2 separate regions of the Homo sapiens genome follow, and region 2 is linked to region 1. The links are contacts of gene promoters, found by promoter capture Hi-C in human tissues and cell types (Jung and others, 2019). All regions are on one chromosome and are shown on one strand. Each heading gives the region's core, a stretch centred on a gene start or on the middle of the fragment in contact. The rest is flanking DNA. Distances are from core to core; before and after follow the strand shown. Region 1 holds the start of OR10H2 (olfactory receptor family 10 subfamily H member 2). Region 2 holds the start of CYP4F2 (cytochrome P450 family 4 subfamily F member 2).

Region 1 (7,102 bases), core at 4,555-7,054:
ACTGTTTTTTATAATGGCTGTACTCATCTACAATCCCACCTACAGTTTACAAGAGTTCCCTTTTCTTCACATTCTTGCCAACATTTTTTTTATCTTTCATCTTTTTGATGTTGGTCAAAGAACATAAAATTTCAGTTAGACAGGAAGACCAAGAGATCTAGTGCATCATGATGACTATAATTAATAACAATCTATTGTATATTTGAAAATTAACGAGAGTAGATTTTGAGTATTGCCATCACAGAAAAGAATGATAACTATGTGGGATAATGCACATGTTAACAGTCTTGAATGAACCATTCCGCAGTGTATACAGATATCCAAACGTCATGTTGTACAGCATAAATACATACACATTAAAAAAATGAGTATCTGCCAGATTTCATGTATTTGGGATCAGATGGAAGAAACAGAGGAATTTGTCGCACAGTCCCTGACTCAAGGGCAGAATGCAGTGAAAGGAAGTAGATGGAGAAGATGTTTCTTTTTCTTTTCTCTTTCTTTTCTTTCTCTTTTCTTTTTCTTTTCTTCCTCCTTTCTTTCTTTCTTTCTTTCTTTCTTTCTTTCTTTCTTTCTTTCTTTCTTTCTTTCTTTCTTTCTTTCTTTCTTTCTTTCTCTTTCTTTCTTTTCTTTCTTTCTTTCTTTTTTTGGAGATACAGTCTCACTCTGCCACCCAGGCTGGAGTGCAGTGATTTGATTGATCCCGGGTGAAAGTTGCGTGGGGGGAACACCGTCGTGTACCATCCTCGGCGCGTCTCCGTGAGTGGTGCTGCGAGTGCGCATGTCTGCACGCATCTCCAGGTGTGCATGGTGCCAGGACGCTCTGCAGGTGCGTGTCCACCTCCGCGTGCAGGGTCTCTGCCTCTGTGAGGGCTCAGGTCTGAACATTCTTGCTAGTGCGCGCGCGTGCCGGTTGGGTGCACGCTTGGTGTTGGCGACAGAGCCTGCAGCACGTGGGGAGAGGTGGCAGGCGGATGCAGGTACATGGACAGGTGTGTGAGGGACACAGTGGGCACCCGTGTCTCAGTCTGTGGAGGCGGAAGCCGCCCATCCCTGAGCTTTCCTGAGGAGCCTCCCCCTCTGCTTTCAGACACAGCTGGGGTGGGGCTCAGCGCTGTCCTGGGCGGGAGCAGGAAGGCTGAGCCGGGACAGCGCTGTGGGTTCTGCCTCCCTTAGCTCCGGACTGACCCTGGGCACCCCAGGACCCTCTCCCTTCCTGAGCACAGGCTAGGCTGTGAACACAGTGCAGAGACAGGGAGAGGTAGAACAAGGCTGAGGGTGGCCCACGGTCCATTTTTTTTTTTTTTTTTTGAGATGGAGTTTCGCTCTGTCACCCAGGCTGGTATGCAGTGGCGCAATCTCGGCTCACTGCAACCTCCTCCTCCCGGGTTCAAGCAATTCTCCTGTCTCAGTGATTCTCCTGTGATTCTCAGTGATTCTCCTGCCTCAGCCTCCTGAGTAGCTGGGATTACAGGCATGTGTCGCCACGCCCAGCTAATTTTTGTATTTTTAGTAGAGACAGGGTTTCACCAGGTCGGCCAGGCTGGTCTCGAACTCCTGACCTCAGGCGATTCACCTGCCTCAGCCTCGCAAAGTGCTGGGATTACAGGCGTGAGCCACCGTGCCCGGCCCCATGGTGTACTTTTTAAAAATTGAAATAAAATTCTCATAATATTGAATTAAATAGTATAAAGTGTACAATTTAGTGGTGTTTAGTACATTCACAAGGTTGTACAACCACCACCTCTATCTAGTTTCAGAATATTTTTGTCCCCACCCTTAAAAACCCGTACCCATGAGCAATCACTCCCCATTCCCCCCTCCCAGCCCCTGTCAACCAACACCTGCTTTCTGTCTCTATGGATTGGCCTGTTCTGGACATTTCATAGCAATGGGATCAGAATATATGTGACTCTTTTGTCTGGCTTCTTCCACTCAATATCGTGTTTTCAAGGCTCCTCATTTTGCATGGGTCATGATCCGTGTTGCATGGGTCAGTGCTTTATTCCTTTTTATTTTTTATAGGTATATAGTAGGTGTGTATACTTATGGGGTACATGAGCTGTTTGGACAAAGGCATACGATGAGTAATAATTACATCAGGGTAAATACAGGATCCATCACCTCAACCATCACCTCAAGCATTTGTTGTTTCTTTGTGTTACAAACATTCCAATTATATATATATATATATATATAATTTTTTTTTGACAGAGTCTTGCTCTGTCGCCCAGGCTGGAGTGCAGTGGCATGATCTTGGCTCACTGCAACCTCTACCTCCCAGGTTCAAGTGATTCTCCTGCCTCAGCCTCCCGAGTAGCTGGGACTACAGGCACATGCCACCACACCCAGCTAATTTTTGTATTTTTAGCAGAGACGGAGTTTCACTATGTTGGCCAGGATGGTCTCGATCTCTTGACCTTGTGATCTGCCCGCCTTGGCCTCCCAAAATGCTGAGATTACAGGCATGAGCCACCACACCCGGCCTCCAACTATACTTATTATATTAACTAATTATATTTAGCTCTTATAAAATATACATTAAATTATTGTTGATTGTAATCCCCCTGTTGTGATATCAAATACTAGATCTTATTCATTCTGTCTAACTATACTTTTTTACGCATTAATCATCCCCACTCCCCCCCAGCTATGTGCACTACCCTTCCCAGCCTCTAATAAACATCCTTCTGCTCTCTATGTCCCTGAAAGCAATTCTTTTAACTTTTGGCTACCACAAATGAATGAGAACATGCAAAGTCTGTCTTTCTGTGCCTGGCTTATTTCACTTGACATAATGACCTCCAGTTCCATTCATTTTGTTGCAAAGGACTGGATCTCATTCCTTTTTTGTGTCTGAGTAATACTCCATTGTGTATATGTACCACATTTTCTTTAACTAATTCTCTGTTGATGGACACTTAGGTTTCTTCCGAATCTGGGCTATTGTGAATAGTGCTGCAGTAAGCATGAGTGAAGAAATCTCTTCAATGTACTAATTTCCTGGCTCACATCTGTAATCCCAGCACTTTGGGAGGCTGAAGTGGGTGGATCACTTGAGGTCAGGAGTTTGAGACCAGCCTGGCCAAAATGGTGAAACCCCTCTCTACTAAAAATACAAAAATTAGCTGGGTGTGGTGGCAGGCACCTGTAATCCCAGCTAAGTGGGAGGGTGATGCAGGAGAATCTCTTGAACCTAGGAGGTGGAGGTTGTAGTGAGGTGAGAATATGCTATTGCACTCCAGCCTGGGCAATACAGTGAGACTGTCTCAAAAATAAAATTATGATTTTCTTTCTTTAGGGTATATGCCTAGCAGTGAGATTGCTGGATTGTAAGGTAGTTCTATTTTAGTTTTTGGGAAACTTCCATACTGTTCTCCATAGTGGCTGTACTAATTTACATCGCCACCAACAGTGTATGAGGATTCCCTTTTCTCTGTGTTCTCACCTGGATTCTCTATCTTTTGGACAAAGCTATTTATTGTCTTCTATCTTTTAGATAAAAGCTGTTTTAACTGGCATGAGCTTTCAAAAATTTAGATTAAATTTATTTAACCTGAAATTATCCTTTAAATATTTTAAAGTGGACAATCAGTGGCATTTAGTACATTAACATGTTGTGCAGCTACTACCTCTAGTTACAAGACATTGTCACCATTCCAAAAAGAACTTCATATCCATTCATCAGTCATTCCCCATCCCACGCTAGCCCCATTCCCTGACAACCACACATCTGCTTTCTTTCTCAGTGGATTTAACTATTCTGGACATTTCTTATAAATGGAATTATATACTATGTGGCCTTTTGTGTCTGGCTTCCTTCACTCAGCCTCATGTTCTCAAAGTGCATCCACGCTGTTGCATGTATCACTGATTCAATCTTTGCGTGGTTGCATAATATTTCATTGTGTGGTCGGACCACATTTTGTTTATCCATTCATTCATTGATCCAGTTTGCATTGTAACATAAACTTTTGTATTTTGCATCTAGCCTGTTTGCAGACTGGCAAGAAAGAGAGTGGGAGAGGAGTCACAGCCTCCTAGTTTAGTTTGTTGGGGAACTTCCATAAACTAAATAAAGTAGAAGGGCTCCTATTGGTGCAGGGAGGAGAGCTGCCCTGGCAGAGAAATTGGGCAGATCTGACTCTGTGGCCACTCAGGGAAGGTGATGAGAGAAGCCATGGCTGATAGCCTAGGTTTTTGCTGTTAGGTTTGGGATTGGAGGATTGGGGTTGGGGTCAAAAAGAGGAGGAGACCAGCAGAGTCACGTAGTGGAAGCATGCTGGGCCCATAGCCTAGAGGTCAGTGGACCATAACCATTTTCTGCTAAGAAGTTTTTGACTGGGCATGGTGGCTCACACCTATAAATCCCAGCACTTTGGGAAGCTGAGGCAGGCTGATCACTTGAACTCAGAAGTTCAAGACCAGCCCGAGCAACATGGTTAAACCCCATCTCTACTAAAAATACAAAAATTAGCCAGGTGTGGTGATGCGGGCCTGTAATCCCAGCTACTCAGGAGGCGGAGGCAGGAGAATTGCTTGAACCCAGGAGGCGGAGGTTGCAGTGAGCCGAGATCATGCCACTGCATTCCAGCAGGGACAGAGTGAGACTCTGTCTCAAAGAAAAAAAAAAAAAAAAGCGGAATTGTGATAGAGAAAGAGTAATTCACACAGAGCTGGCTCTGCAGGGGACTGGAGTTTTATTATTACTCAAATCAGTCTCCCTGAGCACTTGGGGAGCAGAGTTTTTAAGGACAACTTGGTGGGTGGAGGGGAAGCCAGTGAGCCAGCAGTGCTGATTGGTCAGAGATGAAATCAAAGCTGTCTTCTTGCGGAGAGTCAGTTCCTGGGTGGGGGCCACAAGATCAGTTGAGCCAGTTTATCGACCTGGGTGGTGCCAGCTGATCCATCAAGTGCAGGATCTGCAAAATATCTCAAGCACTGATCTTGGGAGCAATTTAGGGAGGGTCAGAATCTTGTAGCCTCCAGCTGCATGACTCCTAAACCATAATTTCTAATCTTGTGGCTAATGTTAGTTCTACAAAGGCAATCTAATCCCCAGACAAGAAGGAGGTCTGCTTTGGGAAAGGGCTGTTATCGTCCTTGTTCCAAACTATAAACTATAAACTATAAACTAAATTTCCCCCAAAGTTAGTTCACCCTATGTCCTGGAATGAACAAGGACAGCTTGGAGGTTAGAAGCAAGATGGAGTTGGTTAAGTTAGATCTCTTTCGCTGTCTCAGTCATAATTTTGCAAAGGTGGTTTCAATTTTCCAGGGGAGCAATGAGGCTCAGAGAGGGGAAGCAACCTGCCCTGCATCTCACAGCTAGAAAGCAGTGGTGCCGAGAATTAAACAGAGTCTGGACGTTTCCATGACATAGGGAAGAGATGACTTCCAGCTGAAGGTGGCAATCAGGGAGCAGCTTGCTCATAAAATTCAGGTAGGATTTGGACCCATAAAGATAGGGAAAAGCATGAAAAGACCAGCATGAACAAAGGCAGAAAAGCAAGGTGTAGGTGGTGGTGCATGGATCTAATAATCGTGATGGCAATAACAATAGCAGAATAATTATTACTATCAACATTTATAATTTATTAAATTCTTACTTTGTGTCAGGACCTGCACAAAGCACTTAAGGTGAGTGATCTTATTTAAACCTCAATACATTATTATTAATGCCTTTCTGCAGATGGAGTAACCATGGCTTGGACAGATGAAGGAGGCGCTCTCAGATGTCCTCCCAGGCAGGAATCACTAGACACCCCCATGCTCCTAACCACTGGGTCTTCTTTCCTCTCTTCCCCAACTAGGGGTGGCCGTCATGCTGGGGCTAAACCACACCTCCATGTCTGAATTCATCCTCGTCGGCTTCTCTGCCTTCCCCCACCTCCAACTGATGCTCTTCCTGCTGTTCCTGCTGATGTACCTGTTCACGCTGCTGGGCAACCTGCTCATCATGGCCACCGTCTGGAGCGAGCGCAGCCTCCACACGCCCATGTACCTCTTCCTGTGCGTCCTCTCAGTCTCCGAGATCCTCTACACCGTGGCCATCATCCCGCGCATGCTGGCCGACCTGCTGTCCACCCAGCGCTCCATCGCCTTCCTGGCCTGTGCCAGTCAGATGTTCTTCTCCTTCAGCTTCGGCTTCACCCACTCCTTCCTGCTCACCGTCATGGGCTACGACCGCTACGTGGCCATCTGCCACCCCCTGCGCTACAACGTGCTCATGAGCCCACGGGGCTGCGCCTGCCTGGTGGGCTGCTCCTGGGCTGGTGGCTCGGTCATGGGGATGGTGGTGACCTCGGCCATTTTCCAACTGACTTTCTGTGGATCCCATGAGATCCAGCATTTTTTATGTCATGTGCCACCTCTGTTGAAGTTGGCCTGTGGAAATAATGTACCAGCTGTGGCCCTGGGCGTGGGCTTGGTATGTATCATGGCACTGCTGGGCTGTTTTCTCCTCATCCTCCTCTCCTATGCCTTCATCGTGGCCGACATCTTGAAGATCCCTTCTGCTGAAGGTCGGAACAAGGCCTTCTCCACCTGTGCCTCTCACCTTATTGTGGTCATTGTGCACTATGGCTTTGCCTCTGTCATCTACCTCAAGCCCAAAGGTCCCCACTCTCAGGAGGGTGACACCCTGATGGCCACCACCTACGCAGTCCTCACGCCCTTCCTCAGCCCCATCATCTTCAGCCTCAGGAACAAAGAACTGAAGGTTGCCATGAAGAGGACCTTCCTCAGCACACTCTATTCCTCAGGCACCTGAGTAGCTGGTGTGGAAGTGCTGATAGAATATGATAGGAGGATGACCATCACCTTGTCTGCACAGTGTGGCTAGTAATGCTTACCTTGTAAGGCAGGTGTAAAGATTTCTGTATATGACAACACTCATCACATAGTAGGTGCTCAGTAAATGTTAAAAGCATGTTTACTTCCACAACTCTTGATCTGTATGTCTTTATCTGAGTTTTAATTTTTGAGTTATAGTAGCTTTATTAAGATGTAATTCACCTACCATACAATGTACCCATTAGAGCGCACATTTCTGTGGTTTTTGCGTATTCAGAGTTATGCAACCATCATGACAATCTGGCTT
Region 2 (7,276 bases), core at 3,174-5,673, 170 kb after region 1:
TCCTGTCTGCACATCGGTCACGTGTTCAGCTGGAGGCAGCACAGCAACCCCAGCTGTGGGCAAAGCTTGGCCAGTGCGATGTCTACCTGGAGCAAAGAGCACAGGCTTGATGCACGTGGGGAGAAAGATGTGGATGACTGCCTGCCAGGGCCCCACCCACCAGCAGCCCATATCCCCAAAGGTGCACGCCAGGCTTTGTGTGTATAGGAGACCTTCTTCTGAGCTGTGAATCTGGAGAAAAACACACAGGACCCAATTCATGCTCTCCTAGGCTGTGAGAGAGAAGGATCTGCAGGGAAGAGGTCGAAGCCCTCTCCCTGAGAATTTCAAGCAGCATCTCATCCTCCTGTCAGTGCTGAGCACCCCCTGCCTCCTCACATCCTCCATGCAGGACTCTCCAGTCCTTCAGTTACACAGACAGAAAAGGTCTTTCCCCATGTGGATCCACACACCATGTTCCCTGGGCTCTCATTCATCCCATTTTCCAGATGAAGAGCCTGAGGCTCTGAACAATAAAGTCACTTGCCCACAGTCCCAGACCACGGCAAGCCTGAGGCCTAAGACTAGGTCTGTCTGCACCCATGGCCTGAATCCTTAACCAACAAACTTCTTTGTGCCCCCAAAACAGTAGCTCTGGAAGACCCAGGCCTACCAAGACTGGGCAATCAGAGACACAGGGATTGGGTGAAAAATTGGTCCTGTGATCCAGGCCAGGAGAAGTAAACCATGGGCCATTTCTGGGAACTCTAGGGGAAAGGTGGCCTTTCCCATAAGAACTGAGCTTCTGGGACTCATCGTTGACATCATGAGGAAAAGGCCACCTTGATAGGAAAAGCGACATGGAGAAAGCTAAAGCCAAGAGAGAAAGACAGATTTCCAGTGACCTTGTGTGAGACCTGGATCCAGCCATGCCTGAAGGCCACCCTCCCTGGACTTTAAAGTCAATAGATTATCTTTCTTTGCTTAGACCACACCAGGTTGGGTTTCCACCACTCACAACTGAAAGAGACTTCAATAACCAGAGACAGCTGGGTACCAGCCCAGAGTCACTCAGCATTTTGAGGTCAGAGCCATGGTCTCTGTAGGATGCTGCCCATTCCCCCTGCTCAGCCTCGCCCGTCCAACGATGGGAAGCACAGGGGTCAAGGAAAGGGACCCAAGCTGGGGTGGAGTCTCCTCTTGGAGATCCCCGGGACCTGCAGCAGGAGAGCAACGAACTTAGGGCAGACAAGCTATAGGATGGGGTAAAGGGAATTGACCCACCAGAGGTGGACATCATGGAAGTAGCAGCCCAGATCCCCCACCAGCCACAAGTCCTCCTCATTGTTCTAGGCTTTGGGACAGGCAAGGTGATGCTAGGCCTGGCAAGGGGCCTTGAATACTAACGATGTCCAATTGCCTCACCCTGCACTCTCCTTTCAAACATTCCTACTCATTGTTCCAGACACAGCTCCAGTAACTCCTCCTCTAGGAAGCCTTCCAGCCTGCCCCAGCAGAGACCTTGTTCTTCCCTGGGCTGTGATCCATCTCCCTCTGGCCCTTTCCTGATCCCATGAAGTTGGGGATATCTCTATCCAGGTCCATCTCCTTAAAGTTGGGGGTTCCTCCAGGACTGGGCCTTGGGTTGAGGTCTCTTAGGGTTCCAGGGCAGCCCAGAACACCAGAACAGGGGGTAGATGGCAATAGAGAGAGGAGACGCTGAGATGGAAATTGATGAATACATGAAAGAAAGATGAAGATAGCTGAGAGGGAAGGAAAGGAGAGGCCAGAGTACTGCAGGGCCCACACAGGAGCTTGGGGATAGCGGAAGTGCAGGCCTCAAATGCACTGCCCCACCAGCTGTTCCAGATGGTACCTGAGGCGTTGATGACAGACCGGATGATGTCGGGGTGGCACAAACTGAGGAGGGGGGAGATGGGTCCCATCCAGACCTTAAAGCCCTGGGGGTAGGTGGCCACCAGCTGAGTCAGAACTCTCATGCCCTCCTCTGTGGGGTTGACCTGCAAGCAAGGCAGGGGTCATTACCTTCTGTGATAGTTAATTCTAGGTGTCTACTTGACTGGGCTAAGGGATGCCCAGGTAGTTGGTCAAACATTATTTCTGGGTGTGTCTAATCTATTCATCCTATCTATCTAATTTTTCTATCTATATATCTATCTGCCTACCCATCTATCCATCAATCCATTTTATCTGTGCTTTCATCCATCCATATATTCATCTGTCTGTCTGCTTATCATCTATTAATAGCCATCTATCCGTCTAATCTATCCATCATATATATCTACTCCATCTGTCTACATAATCTATCCATCCTATCTACTCTATCTACCCATCCATCCATCATCCATCCATCCATCCATCCTATCTGTGCATCCGTGTGTCCATGCATCCATATGTCCTATTATTTGTCTATCTATCTATCCATCCATCCATCCATCCATCCATCCATCCATCCATGCTATCTGTGCATCCATGTGTCCATGCATCCATCTATTCTATTATCTATCTACCTACGTGCCTGTCCATCCATCCATCCATCCATCTATCCATCCTATCTGTGCATCTATCTATCTATCCTATTAGCTATCTATCTATCTATCTATCTATCTATCTATCTATCTATCTACATTCCTCCTGCTCTATCTATCTATCTATCCACATTCCTCCTGCTCTATCTCTCTTGGGTCCATCTCCAAGTCCCAAGGGTGCATCCCAGGGCAGAGGGAGAAGACGCACTGTCCACTCACAGAGGCCCAGTTATCTTGAGAGGAAGGATTTTCTTTTTCTGGGAGTCATTTCAGCCCAGAGGCAGCTATATGGGGAGGTCCTCACAGGGGAGATTTGTGGGGAGCAGTATCGCCTCAGGACATGTCCCTAAGGCTGGTCCCCACATGCCTTCATGTCCTGGCTGATCCACAGAGGCTCCAGTTCCTCCCATGGAGAAGGTTCTGCACATGGGAGACCTTCCCTTTTCAGCAGCCACTAGTGGAGCAGAGGTGACTCTAACTGTCCATCAGGACAATGGCTCCCACCTGGGAGCAGCTTCTGCAGCAGGCTCTGTGCTAGTGTGTCCTGTGCACCCTTCCACTTTATCTGTGGACACATCCATCAATCCTGCCATTTGCAAATGAGCAGACTAAGACCACATTCCCCAAAGAGGAGAGCGGTCTAAGTCAGAGGGCAAGGTCACGGGGAGGAGAAAGGCCAAGGAAAGCTTCTGAAAGGTGAAGTGAGTGGCCAACTTTTATCTGGGTTTGGCAACAGGTCTCATTGATAAGAGGGAGATAAGAAGAAGAATATAAGAGAAAGGTGCCTTCGGGTGTAGTGGAAGTGGGAGACGGCCCATGCCTCTCCTCTGGCCCAGCTGTACCCTCATAACAGGAAATAGTCCAGGCAAGGAGAGGACCCTGGACAGTGGGCATAAGAAGCCTCGAGTCCAGCAATGGAGAATGTGGGAATGCCAGGGACTCGCCTCTCTGTGCAGCCAACCCTCTGCCCAGGAGCCCCGCAGAGGTGCATTAATGTGGGAAGACAGGCAGGAAAAGGATTCAATGCAGGCCTGGAGTGGGAGGACAAGGAAGTGAGAAGGGCTTGCGTAGGCACCTCACAGAAATGAATAAGCAGAGGAATGAGTAAGATGCCTCCTCTGCTTCTCTGCCACCCCAGATCCCAGCCCACCCCTTCACCCCCACTCCCTAAGCCTCGTACCCCTCAGGAAGTCCATCCATCCTGAGACCTAGACCCATCCTGCTGCCACACTCACCATGCCCTGGTGTCCCCAAAACCAGTTCCGTCTTGGGGGTTGTGGGAAACACCGAAGGCGGCGGCAGTTGTCATAGAAGGCGTAGGTCCAGGCCAGGACATGGGCCAGGAGCCAGGAGGCCCCGACCAGCAGGAGGAGCAGCCAAGGGGATGCTGCCACTGGCCAGAGGCCCAGCCAGGACAGGCTCAGCTGGGACATCCTGCAGGGCAGACGGGATGGACGGTGAGATCCTGAGGCCCAGAGAACGGCCCAGGGACCTCCAGGGACAGTGGAGAGGCAGGGACGGGCAGTGCCGGAGGTAGAGCAGGGAGGGCTCAGGGATGGGTAAAAAGGGGCTGAGAGGTAAAGTCCAGAAAGGCCCAACCAAAACCAGCAGCCAAGTGGCCTCCAGTTCCCTAGTAAGCACTTAGAATGGGAAAGAGAGAGAGAGACTGATTAAAGTCCAGAAAGGCCCAGCCTGAATCACTGTGAGGTTGCCAGGGGCTTGGTTTCAGTTACTCGGAAACCACCCATCCTCCAGGCCAGCACCCAGGAGCTGCGTGGGCCTTGGGCAGTGCCCCTCTCCATCCCAGGCCAGGACCCCCCCCAGGCCTGCCACCCCCAGCCTGGCACCTTCTGTCAGGAGCAGTCTGTCCCAGACAACCTCCTCTCTCTGTCTGCTGGGAGGCCTTTGACCCTGGCCCTTGATATAGCAAAGGCTGTGGGAGGGCTGGCTGGGTTGGGCTGGGCCAACCAATCCCTGCAGCCTGGATGTGTCTCCTGAGCCTGGGCAGCCAATCAACACCTGGCGTCAGGCCAGCTGGGTGCAGAGGAATCAGCTCAGGGTCCAGATGGATGGGTAGATGCACAGATAGATAGAGTAGATAGGATGGATACATTAGGTAGATAGATAAAGTAGATATAGATAATGGATATATTAGACAGATGGATAGATAGCTATTAATAGATGATAGATAGATACATAGATAATAGGATAAATAGATGGAATGGATAAACGTACAGCTAAGATGGATTGATGGATGGATGGGTAGGCAAATATATATATAGATGAGAAATTAGATAGATAGGATGAATAGATTAGATAGACACACCCAGAAATAATGTTCCATCTCTGTCCCAGATATGTGGGATCCTCATTTGTGACATGGGAACTAGGGATCTTGGATCACTCCAATCACTCCAGATGCTACAAGGCCAGTGACTTACTCAGTATGATGCTGAGGAACATGACCATCAGAAACAGGATCAGAGTCACTCTCAAGCAAAAAAAAAAAAAAAAAAAAAAAAAAAAAAAAAAAAAACTCCAAGGATTAAATGATTTTTCCCATTGTCCTGGGGAGAAATTAATCCAAGGGAGGTCACAGGAGGGCAAATAATTCCCCATCACCACCACCACCACCATGAGCATACCATCACCCATGGAGTTTTCTGATTTACTCTTTGGCCCATTAAGCGTGAAATTTCTTATGCTAGGTTTCTTTCTGATAAGGGAGAAGAGATTAGTATCTCTACATTTCCTCTCCTCCTGCTACCTAGTCTCTGTATTCTAGGTTAAATTATAATTTATGTTGAGGATTTACAATGGCTGATACACCTAGCTGAGCCTTCTGCACAGAGATACATTGGGAGTGGAGGTTAATTGGGTCAAAGGAGAAATGCCATAAGCCCACACTCCAGCCTATCAGGGTGGATTAAAGGTCTGATTTGCCCAACTCTTGTCACACCTGCTCCCACTGAGAGGTGACAGCATGCTGGCAGTCCTCACAGCCCTCACTCGCTCTCGGCGCCTCCTCTGCCTGGGCTCCCACTTTGGCGGCACTTGAGGAGCCCTTCAGCCCACCGCTGCACTGTGGGAGCCCCTTTCTTTTCTCTTCTTTTCTTTTTTTTTGGATTTTTTTATTATTATTATTATACTTTAAGTTTTAGGGTACATGCGCACAATGTGCAGGTTAGTTACATATGTATACATGTGCCATGCTGGTGCGCTGCACCCACTAACTCGTCATCTAGCATTAGGTATATCTCCCAATGCTATCCCTCCCCCCTCCCCCCACCCCACAACAGTCCCCAGAGTGTGATGTTCCCCTTCCTGTGTCCATATGTTCTCATTGTGTAGGGACATGGATGAAATTGGAAATCATCATTCTCAGTAAACTATCGCAAGAACAAAAAACCAAACACCGCATATTCTCACTTATAGGTGTAGGAGCCCCTTTCTAGGCTGGCCAAGGCCAGAGCCGGCTCCCTCAGCTTGCAGGGAGGTATGGAGGGAGAGGCGCGAGTACGAACCGGGGCTGCGCGCGGCACTTGCGGGCCAGCTAGAGTTCCAGGTGGGCGTAGGCTTGGCAGGCCCCGCACTCGGAGCAGCCGGCCGGCCCTGCCAGCCCCGGGCAATGAGGGGCTTAGCACCCGGGCCAGCGGCTGCTCGGGAAGGTGTACTCGGTCCCCCAGCAGTGCCAGCCCACCGGCGCTGCGCTCGATTTCTCGCCGGGCCTTAGCTGCCTTCCCGCGGGGCAGGGCCCAGGACCTGCAGCCCGCCATGCCTGAGCCCCCGGCCTCCGTAGGTTCCTGTGCAGCCCGAGCCTCCCCGATGAGCGCCGCCCCCTGCTCCAGGGCGCCCAGTCCCATCGACCACCCAAGGGCTGAGGAGTGCGAGCGCACGGCGCGGGACTGGCAGGCAGCTCCACCTGCAGCCCCGGTGCGGGATCCACTGGGTGAAGCCAGCTGGGCTTCTGAGTCTGGTGGGGACGTGGAGAACCTTTGTGTCTAGCTCAAGGATTGTGAACGCACCAATCAGCGCCCTGTCAAAACAGACCACTTGGCTCTACCAATCAGCAGGACATAGGTAGGGCCAGATAAGAGAATAAAAGCAGGCTGCCCGAGCCAGCAGTGGCAACCCGCTCAGGCCCCCTTCCACATTGTGGAAGCTTTGTTCTTTCACTCTTTGCAATAAATCTTGCTGCTGCTCACTCTTTAGGTTCACACTGCTTTTATGAGCTGTAACACTCACCGCGAAAGTCTGCAGCTTCACTCCTGAGCCAGCGAGACCACGAACCCACCAGAAGGAAGAAACTCCGAACACATCTGAACATCAGAAAGAACAAACTCCAGACGCGCCACCTTAAGAGCTGTAACACTCACCGCGAGGGTCCGCGGCTTCATTCTTGAAGTCAGTGAGACCAAGAACCCACCAATTCCGGACACACCATTGTCTGAGTAAGTTTGGGTGCCAGGACTATGAGGTCGTGTGAAGACTTCCAGCCCCATACCTGCAGAACAGTCTGCAGCTCACTCTGCTCTGAACTGCCCCAACTTTGCACAGATATTCTCCATTCCTCGAAATGAAACTGTATCCTTCAAAGCTCACACATTTCGCTTATTGGCTCAGCGTAGGGAGCAAGTTCTCTAGATAGCTTACTACCAAATAAAATGGTGGAGAAGGGAACCCAGGCAGCTGGGCACAAAAAAGGAATGAGCAACAAGCTTCCTCTCTGAACATGATTTTCTGTGTAA

What was found. Contacts are between HindIII fragments. The study calls those that stand out against the background at their distance.
Region 2: the fragment with the promoter of CYP4F2 here is called in contact with the fragment with the promoter of OR10H2 in region 1 in 1 of the 25 tissues and cell types used here (pancreas).

The regions. Positions count from the first base shown.
Region 1 is chr19:15,722,220-15,729,321 of GRCh38, forward strand. OR10H2 (olfactory receptor family 10 subfamily H member 2) reads left to right here and starts at 5,805. Exons shown (of 1, transcript NM_013939.2): 1 at 5,805-6,833. The coding sequence starts at 5,825. The coding sequence ends at 6,772. The HindIII fragment of the contact is 21,841 bases long and covers 1-7,102 here.
Region 2 is chr19:15,893,651-15,900,926 of GRCh38, forward strand. It overlaps CYP4F2 (cytochrome P450 family 4 subfamily F member 2), which reads right to left and starts at 4,424. Exons shown (of 13, transcript NM_001082.5): 1 at 4,376-4,424; 2 at 3,764-3,962; 3 at 1,856-2,000. The coding sequence starts at 3,961. The HindIII fragment of the contact is 5,329 bases long and covers 1,640-6,968 here.